3 separate regions of the Homo sapiens genome follow, and all the other regions are linked to region 2. The links are contacts of gene promoters, found by promoter capture Hi-C in blood cells and fetal thymus (Javierre and others, 2016). All regions are on one chromosome and are shown on one strand. Each heading gives the region's core, a stretch centred on a gene start or on the middle of the fragment in contact. The rest is flanking DNA. Distances are from core to core; before and after follow the strand shown.

The links. The method cuts DNA at HindIII sites, captures the fragments that hold promoters and counts their contacts. A CHiCAGO score of 5 or more calls a contact.
Region 1: a contact is called between the fragment with the promoter of SLC35B3 here and the fragment with the promoter of RPP40 in region 2, in 3 of 17 cell types (activated CD4 T cells, non-activated CD4 T cells and total CD8 T cells). The highest score is 6.8, in activated CD4 T cells.
Region 3: a contact is called between a fragment that was not itself captured here and the fragment with the promoter of RPP40 in region 2, in 1 of 17 cell types (naive CD4 T cells). The highest score is 5.7, in naive CD4 T cells.

Annotation. Positions count from the first base shown.
Region 1 is chr6:8,433,838-8,436,906 of GRCh38, reverse strand. It overlaps SLC35B3 (solute carrier family 35 member B3), which reads left to right and starts at 1,362. Exons shown (of 10, transcript NM_001370479.2): 1 at 1,362-1,564. It overlaps LOC100506207 (a long non-coding RNA gene), which reads right to left and starts at 1,284. Exons shown (of 5, transcript NR_038980.1): 1 at 729-1,284. RefSeq lists enhancers at 965-1,054, 1,135-1,214, 1,155-1,324, 1,525-1,584, 1,081-1,622 and 1 more. The HindIII fragment of the contact is 10,856 bases long and covers 718-3,069 here.
Region 2 is chr6:5,002,646-5,005,439 of GRCh38, reverse strand. It overlaps RPP40 (ribonuclease P/MRP subunit p40), which reads left to right and starts at 1,403. Exons shown (of 8, transcript NM_006638.4): 1 at 1,403-1,560. The coding sequence starts at 1,438. LYRM4-AS1 (LYRM4 antisense RNA 1) reads right to left here and starts at 1,624. Exons shown (of 4, transcript NR_126015.1): 1 at 1,481-1,624. RefSeq lists silencers at 1,293-1,422, 1,553-1,802. The HindIII fragment of the contact is 5,117 bases long and covers 1-2,794 here.
Region 3 is chr6:8,106,595-8,109,517 of GRCh38, reverse strand. No RefSeq gene overlaps it. Among named protein-coding and RNA genes, the nearest start is that of EEF1E1-BLOC1S5, 5.5 kb to the right of the region's middle. RefSeq lists a silencer at 193-385. The HindIII fragment of the contact is 4,957 bases long and covers 1-2,923 here.

The DNA.
Region 1 (3,069 bases), core at 113-2,612, 3.4 Mb before region 2:
GTCCAGGCATGAGCAGATGGTACCTTGTAACACCTCTTGTACCTTAAGTTGTTTTATACTGCCATTTACTTTCTCATGGAAACCCCTAATTTCTTCAGGACAGGGAGCTCATACGCATAGTTTACGATATGAGCTATACATATGCCCATTTAATAAATACTTGATAAATAACCACCATATAAATGGCTAACAGTAGTACTAAATTCACATTATACAGTGACGATATGGCATCACTGAAAGGTTTTGTCATTTACTATCTCTTTAGGAAATTTAAGTTCTCTAAGCCTTAATTCCAACATTCCTAAGTGTTGCTAACACCAGCCTAACAACGTTGGCAAGTATTAAACGAAAATGTCTACCCAGACCTTTTTTTCTCACCACCAAAGTAGGTGCCTTGCTTTCTTACAAACCCTCGATCCCAATACAAGACACAAATGCTACCCTTTCTGAAGAGTGCCTGTAAAATTTTAAAAGTTGTCCATAACTGACTGGATTCTAACATACATATTAATCCAATTCATCCCTTTCTGGTATTCAAGGCATGCTTTCAAAAATTGTCCATCTTCGTTACAGTAATATTTTCCTTAATTATTCTCTGAAAACAGCTCATCCCCAAACCGTCTTGGTTTTTACGTTATTACATCTCAGTGGTGATGGATGAGGCCCTAAACGCGGGGAAAACCTTTTACAAAAGTTTTGATGGCTGGTCCTCAAGCTTTGAGATTTACCTTCCAAGAATTAAGCAGCACTATCGAAACAATGCTGGCAACATTTTTATGAGGTTGCAAGGACCACGGTTGCTGCAGCTACAGGATGAGTTATAACGTCAGAAGCAACCCAAGCGTTACTTCAGGCCCATCTTCACCGGAGAAGCCCGTATGAATCAGGCAAAAACATAAAAACAGGTTCTGTGACTTTGCCGTATCTCATTTAGATCAAGTAGCACGCAGAAGGAAGACAAGGATTTTAAAATCTGGCTCCAACATTCTCCACTTGGTCGCGTTCTCAAATCTCAGCCCAGGGCCGCTGACGTAAAGTCGCCTCTCTCGTGGGCACCACGGGCTCGAGGGTAGCCGGCAGCTGAAACCCGAGGGGCTTCAGAGGCTTGGAGGCCAGGAGCAGGCAGAGCGCCGATGGGATAATGAGATTCTCCAGCAGATCGGCGCTCACCGACCTACTCCATTTCAGTGGGTAGAGGTAAAGGCTGAAAGGCGACCCTCGCACCGCCCGGCCCACCTAGGCAGTGCCGGCCTAGCGTCTCTACCCCATAGAGCATGCGCGGGAGGTAACGGCCCGCCCGCCACCGGCCACACAGGCCTGTCGGGAGGCGGGGCCACGCGTCTGCGCACGCGCGCAGGGACACATAGGCGGAAGTGGCCTGCGGGCGCCGGAGTTGAGAGTGCTTTCCGGGGAGGCGACCGCCGCGGTGGAAAGTGCAGGAGTGGGCGAGGAGGAGGAGGAAGAGGAGGTGATGGCGACGGACCAGGGGAGGGGGAGATGCTCCGTCTAGCTCAGACGCCACGCAGGCTGCCGTCACCCTTCCGGGTGACATACCGGCCTTGGGGTACGCGTGCCTTCGGGGCCTTTCCTGTGTTTGGGACCCAGATCTCCTCTCCTCCAGAAAACCTTGACACTGCCCATCTTCCTCATCCAGAAGGAGCGTTCGAGGAATGGATGAGGTCGGGATGGAAGAAACGGGTGATTCCCTTTTTTGAAAGAGCGGAAACCGGCCGGGCGGTTTCCAGGGAGGAGCATCTGTTCCTCCTCGCCCGTTTTTCGCCCTCGGGCTGGCGAGAACTCCCTCAGGTCCCAATCCGTGGACTCGCAGGGGTGAGGTGACCTCAAGGGGTCTTTTACGCTGTTCTCGGGGTCTCTGGAGAACTGTCAGTCACCTGGATACCTCTAGACTGTATTTACAGTTAACTGTTTCCTCGTTCCGTGTTTATTAAATAGGGGCACTCCAAGGTACTCTTTTCTCCATTTGGCTTGCAGTAGAATGTGATTGTTCTGGCTGGGCTATTAAGTTTATGGCATAAACTTCCACTAGAAGTTCTGCAAGTTTCCTCCAGTCTTTGCAACTGAATTATCTCTCCCGTCTTTTTATTATTTAAGGAATATTGAAAGTAAAAGATGGAATGATTTGGTGCGCTAACAAAATCTTAAGTGTTGAGTATCTGCATTTTTTCTACATTAGGATATCAGAAGCCTAGAATTGTTTTTTGATTAAACGTTTTTCTAAGTGAATTGAGATAGTTTGGAACTTGGAAGAGAGGCAGCATTTCAAAATAATTTAGACAGCGTTATTTTTACTTAATTACTTAATATATAAAGTCCTAGTGTTAACTTTTTCTCTTGGAAAAAAAAAAGAATAGTCTTCAAACATTAGCACAGGGTTTCTCCACCTTTGTGTAATGATGTGTGTACAAAGAAATGAGATGGAACTTTGTTTTTTCTGTTTTATAATCGTACACCATAGGCCATGATTGATTCCGGAGCGCAGTTAATCAAGGCATAATGGCATGGTAAGATTCTTTTATTTGTAACGTTGAGTGTGGCAAAGTATAGTTAAAATCACGTTTTTTCAGGTTAATGACACCGTAATGACTTTTTTTTCATATTCTACCTTTTTTTGGTGTGGGACTTTTGTCCTTCAGGTCGGAAAACTCAAAAATAAACTGAAATAATTGTGACTTCAATAGGTCATTGTAACTCAACATTATCACTAATTTTAATTTTTAAATATACATTGTATGCCGGAAATGCTACCTTTTTATTCCATTTTAGCAGTTGAAGTTGAATATCTGTGTTGAATTTAGGAAGAGGCCTCAGGCAATTATACACACCTGTGATTTTTAAAATATATATATATATATTTTAGTTTCACTGATTACTGTGAGCTTCAAAAGCAAAGCACAATGTTGATCATTTAGTCTGAAAACTAATTTTAATTCCATGCTTCATTTTTGCTCCTTGCATCACAAGGAGTTTGGCCCATTTTTTTTTTTAGATGATGGTTAGTATCAGTCATTAATGTTTGAAGTGGAAGGGATATGGCAGACATTCCCCAAT
Region 2 (2,794 bases), core at 154-2,653:
AGGCGTGAGCCACAGCACTCAGCCAGATTACCGATGTTTTTAGTGGCAGATGACTTTCCGGCCTTGTCTTAGTTTTAATTTTTTTTTTTGAGATGGGGTCTTACTATATTGTCCAGGGTGGTCGTGAACTTCTGAGTTCAAGTGATCCTCCCACCTCAGCCTCCCAAAGTGCTGGGACTACAGGCGTGAGCCACTGTGCTCGGCCAGATTACTGATGTTTATAATGGCAGATGACTTTCCAGCCTTGTCTTAGTTTTATTTTTATTTTTGGAGATGGGGTCTCACTATATTGCCCAGGCTGGTCTTGAACTCCTAAGCTCAAGTGATCCTCCCACCTCAGCCTCCCAAAGTGCTGGGATTACAGGCATGACCCACTGTGACTGGCTTAGTTTTAAATTCTTAATTATTTACCTTGTAAACTACTTAATTCCATTTCTTCCACATCTCATAGAAAAACTGATGTTCCAGGAAGATGTATCACCAATATTCTGCTGTTTTGTATCCTGCCAGTGCAGAATTGGGGCTGTGCCTCTCTAGTTTGAGAAGCATGTAGTAACATACTTGATTTTGCCCTGATCAGTAACGTACCGCATGCTGGGAGCCGCAGTCTCTTAACCGCTCCAAGCCCGTGACAGAAAAACGAAATGGAAAAATGACTTAGGAGAATTATCACTATTAACCCCCAGAAACAACACATTATTAAAAGCGGTTCTGAAGGGCTATTTAAAAGGGAACTCAATAGTAGTTTCAAAGGAGTCCTATTGTAAGGCAAAAATTGTGCTTTACCTTCCCGCACAACCTTCCCTAATGTTTTGGGAAGGACTGATACAAACTTTTAGTCCTGTTGGCCTGTGTTAATAATGGCCAAGAGGTCCCCAATGGGTAACAGAGTCCTGTGAACCAAACAGTGTGAGAAGTCAGAAAGCAGCTGGGTGTGGCCCCCAAAGCAGCTTAGGGGGTTACTTAACTGTGCGGCTACATTTCTTGACCATATACTAAAGGAACTGGGCCTTTCCATGCGATGTTTTCCTTTTATAACGGTGGCAGGAAGCGGTCCCTCTGAGGGGCCTGACCGAGGTATGCGCCGGCGCCAGGCTGGGGTCCAAGGGGCGCTCCGAGGCGGGGCCCACAGAGAGGGTTTAGGGCAATTCCAAGGGATGGCGGGGACGGAGGAAAAGTGGCGTTGAAAAGGCAAGAGCCAGGTTCCCAGCCACTGGGACAGTGAATTTACAGCTTCAGACATCCACCAAAGAGCGGCTGCGTGGGCTCCTAAGAAGTCTAAGAACTGCTCAGAAATCCAGCGCCGCCATCCCCACTCCACCGCCGCCAGGGGCGCACAGCAGCGGGTATGCGGCCGGAGGGAAGGGGCGGGGCGGGAGGAAGGGGCGGGGCGTGCCCCGCCAGCGGAGGCCGGGAGGACCAGGAACCCAGGAGAGCATGGCCACGCTGCGCCGGCTTCGGGAGGCGCCGCGGCACTTACTGGTTTGCGAGAAATCCAACTTCGGCAACCACAAGTCGCGCCACCGGCATCTTGTGCAGACGCACTACTATAACTACAGGGTGAGTCCGGCTGTCCTCGGCTTTTCGGGCCGTGCTCAGTCCCCGCGTGCGAGAGAGGTTTGGGGAGAGTGCTAGGCTTCGCGGGGCGGGGCCGCCGGCGGTACGCGGAGGGGCGGGGCCCTCGCCCGGCTTGCTGGGAGTTGTAGTCTCTTAACTGCTCTAAGCCAGTGGCTTGCAGGGCTACAGGACTACAACTCCCAGGATGCGCCGGGCGTGGGGGCGGTACCCAGTCTGGAGGGAGCTGTTGTCAGGGGCGTTCTGGCTGCTCACTCGTGTCAACCCGCCGAACTGGGAGTGAGTCCAGGGAGGGATTCGAGGTTCAGGGCCGGGACCAGGGAGTTAGGCTGTGGGGCAGCCACGTGCACCTCGCTTTTTCCCCAAATCAGGGCGGGTCTCGCGCCTCCTCCCCACCACTGCCTCCTCCCCAGCTTGAATCCCTCTCCCACCTGCGTACCTGTGGATCTCACCAGAGCATCCTGCCTAGGCTCGGCCCAGGAAGCGACTGATTTTCCTTTTTTTTTTTTTTTTTTTTTTAGACGGAGTTTCGCTCTGTCGCCCAGGCTGGAGTGCAGTGGCGCGATCTCGGCTCACTGCAGGCTCCGCCTCCCGGGTTCACGCCATTCTCCTGCCTCAGCCTCCCGTGTAGCTGGGTCTACAGGCGCGCGCCACCACGCCCGGCTAATTTTTGTATTTTTAGTAGAGACGAGGTTTCACCGTGTTAGCCAGGATGGTCTCGATCTCCTGACCTCGTGATCCGCCCGTCTCGGCCTCCCAAAGTGCTGGGATTACAGGCGTGAGCCACCGCGCCCGGCCGAAGCGACTGATTTTCTAAATTGGTTGTTGGAACTAATTTGATATCTGAGAGACTTCAAGAAACTAACCTTATCATGGGGGATTAAACATTTTACACTTTAAATGGATCAGCTTAATAACTCAGGTTTGACTGAGCAGTGTTTCAGAGATGTTAAGTGGTGACCTGATCAGTCAGAACAGGCTGGTGTTTGAGCCTTGGGACAGTGATGACTTTTACAATGTGGCAACATTTGAAGCCTGCCCTGTTTTTAACACCTATTTTGGATGTCAAGCTCATCACAGCAGTCAGGGATGTATACTTTAACTCGCCTGTTGCATTTTTCTGTCTCGAAAATGAAAACATACAGGAGCACCATTGCTTGCACATAGATTCTTAGTAATTGGATGTCCATAAATTAATTCCTTATGCCCCGACAGATAG
Region 3 (2,923 bases), core at 118-2,617, 3.1 Mb before region 2:
TCAATGGCCTGTGCTGCTCTTGAACAGAAAGAATTAGCCTGTCACCAGCATGCTGGCCCCAGGCTGACTCTTCACCTGAAGGGTGGCACCGAGGACATGCTCCGCCCTTGAGCCTTCCTCCAGGGAGTGTGGAGAAGACGTTCTGCTGCTAAAAATCCTGTGACTCTGCTGTCATTGTCCCCAGGGCTGTGGTTGGAGCTGTGCTGACAGCTCCTCTCTCACACCTCCTCTGCAACAATCTCAGTGACACTGTGCAGCAGGGTCCCCAGCATGGCTCTCAAGCCAAGATCCACCCAAGCCTTGATGAACTGGAGTCCCCCAAGATGAGCCTGGAGTTCTAAATTGAGTCGCCGCTGAGTCGGAGAATTAGGAGGCTATAGAGAGGATGTCGGGGCAGGACTCAAAATCTGGGGGATACTTTGTTCTTTTCTAAGGTATTTCTCTATCTGTAATGCTCTGAAGATTCATTTTCTTACACTTCTTGGAGCCTCAATTTCCTCATCTATAAAATGGGGATAACAATGGTATCTGCTTCAAAGGCTGGTGTGATAATTCATGAGTTAATACAAGAGCTTAGAACAGAGTCCAGCACAGAGCAGTGATCAGTAAGTGTTTGACAGCCGGATGCCGAGAGGGAGGAGAATGAGGACGATGGCGATGATGATGGTGATAATGTAATAAATGGCCACTTCCTGAGCCCAGAGAAGGTGGTTTGGGGGATCAATGAATGTTTGGGAGACTAGCGAAAGAAAATGATTTTTCTTTCAGTACATTGGTTGTCCATTCCTGACTTGTAGTTTTGAGTCATTTTCATTTGCACTGGTCAACCGTCAGATAAGGGATTTTTAATTTTTGGTGTTTAATGTTTGCTTAAAGATGAGACTGTGTAATATCCTCACAGTTCTCATGTTACTTGTTTTGACCCATTGACCTAGCTTTCCACATCATTCCATATGTTTGCATGATTCTTTATTCATTCGGCAAATGAATGTATCCAGTGATCACTCTGTTCCAAGGCTGGTGCCTGGTGCGATGACTCAGTAATAAACAGGATGCAGTCTGTGTGCTCAGTCAGCATGCCGGCCAGGGCAGGCAGATACCAAGAAGGTAGCCTCAGCACAGTGGGGTCTGTCTTGTGGCAGGAGCATTCCCAAGGCTGTTATGAGTGCTCAAATTCAGCCCTAAGAGAGGAAGCGGGGCATTCCTGCTGGAGTGAACCAGAGACAGAAAGGCCCAGAGGCAAGAGAATATTTTGGGCTCCCAGGAGCTGTGAGGAGATGGCCAAGGCTGGGGCAAAAAATGCCAGGCAGGAAGTGTCTAGAAGTGAGCATGAAAAAGTCAACAGAGGTCAGGTTATAAAGGACCTTAGCTCCCAGATAAAGGAGGCTGGACTAAATTCTAAGTGCCATGAAGAGCCACAGGCATGTTTTCTGGAAGGAGTGACCAAATAGATTGGCAGCTAAGAAAGATCACCTGAGGCCAGGCATGGTGGCTCACACCTGTAATCCCAGCACTTTGGAAGGCCAAGGTGGGTGGATCACGAGGTCAGGAGTTCAAGACCAGCCTGGCCAACATGGTGAAACCCTGTCTCTACTAAAAAATACAAAAAATTAGCTGGGCGTGGTGGTGCGTGCCTATAATCCCAGCTACTCAGGAGTCTGAGGTAGGAGAATCGCTTGAACCTGGGAGGCAGAGTTTGCAGTGAGATGAGATCACACCATTGCACTCCAGCCTGGGTGACATAGCAAGACTCTGTCCTCCGCATAGAGATAGGTGTATATAAATGATTGTAGATAAGAATTGGCTCACACAATTATGGAGGCTGAGAAGTCCAGTGATCTGCTGTCTGGAAGTTAGAGACCCAGGAAAGATGCTGTGATATGGTTTGGCTGTGTCCCCACCCAAATCTCATCTTGAATTGTAACTCTCACAATTCCCACGTGTTGTGGGAGGAACCTGGTTGGAGGTTATTGAATCATAGGGGTGTGTCTTTCCCATGCTGGTCTCATGACAGTGAATAAGTCTCATGAGATGTGATGGTTTTAAAAATGGGAGCTTCCCTGCACAAGTTCTCTTCTCTTGTCTGCCGCCACATGAGATGTGCCTTACACCTTCCACCATGATTGTGAAGGCTCTCCAGCCACGCAGAATCGTAAGTCCCATAAACCTCTTCCTCTTGTAAATTGCCCAGTCTCAGGTATGTCTTTATCAGCAGCGTGAAAATGGACTAATACATGGTGGTACCATTCAAAAGCCTGGGAGCTGGACAGCAATGGTAAAGATTCCCATCTGAGTTTGAAGACTTGAGAACCAGGAGCACCATGGGCAAGAGAAGATCAGTGTTCCAGCTCAGCAGTCAGGTCAGGAGTAAATATCACCTTCCCTCATACTTTTGTTTTATCCAGGTCCTCACAGACGGGATGATGCCCACCCACGCTGGTGAGGGTGATCATCTTCATTCAGTCCACCAACTTAAATGCTCATCATTTCTGGAAACACCCTGACAGACACACCCAGAAATGATGTATTACCAGATATCCAGGCATCCTGAAGCCCAGTCAAGGTGACACATAAAATTAACCATCAAAAATAAAGGATGCCCAGAGGCCTCTAAAAATTTTTAGAGGCATCGTTCAAGGACCCTTCCAATCCAGCATCTGCTTACCGGTCTAGCCTGAACAGTTACTCCAAAGAATCATGCTCTCTTCCACTTTGCAGCCTTTGCATATGCAATTCCCATTGCTCAGAACTCTCCCTCAGTTTTCCACCCCACCACTCACCTGACCAACTCTTGTTCATCCTTCAAGTCTCAACTTGAACACCATGACCTCTTGGAAGCAATCTTTTTTTTTGAGATGGAGTCTCACTCTGTTGCTCGGGCTGGAGTACAGTGGCACAATCTTGGCTCACTGCAACCTCCACC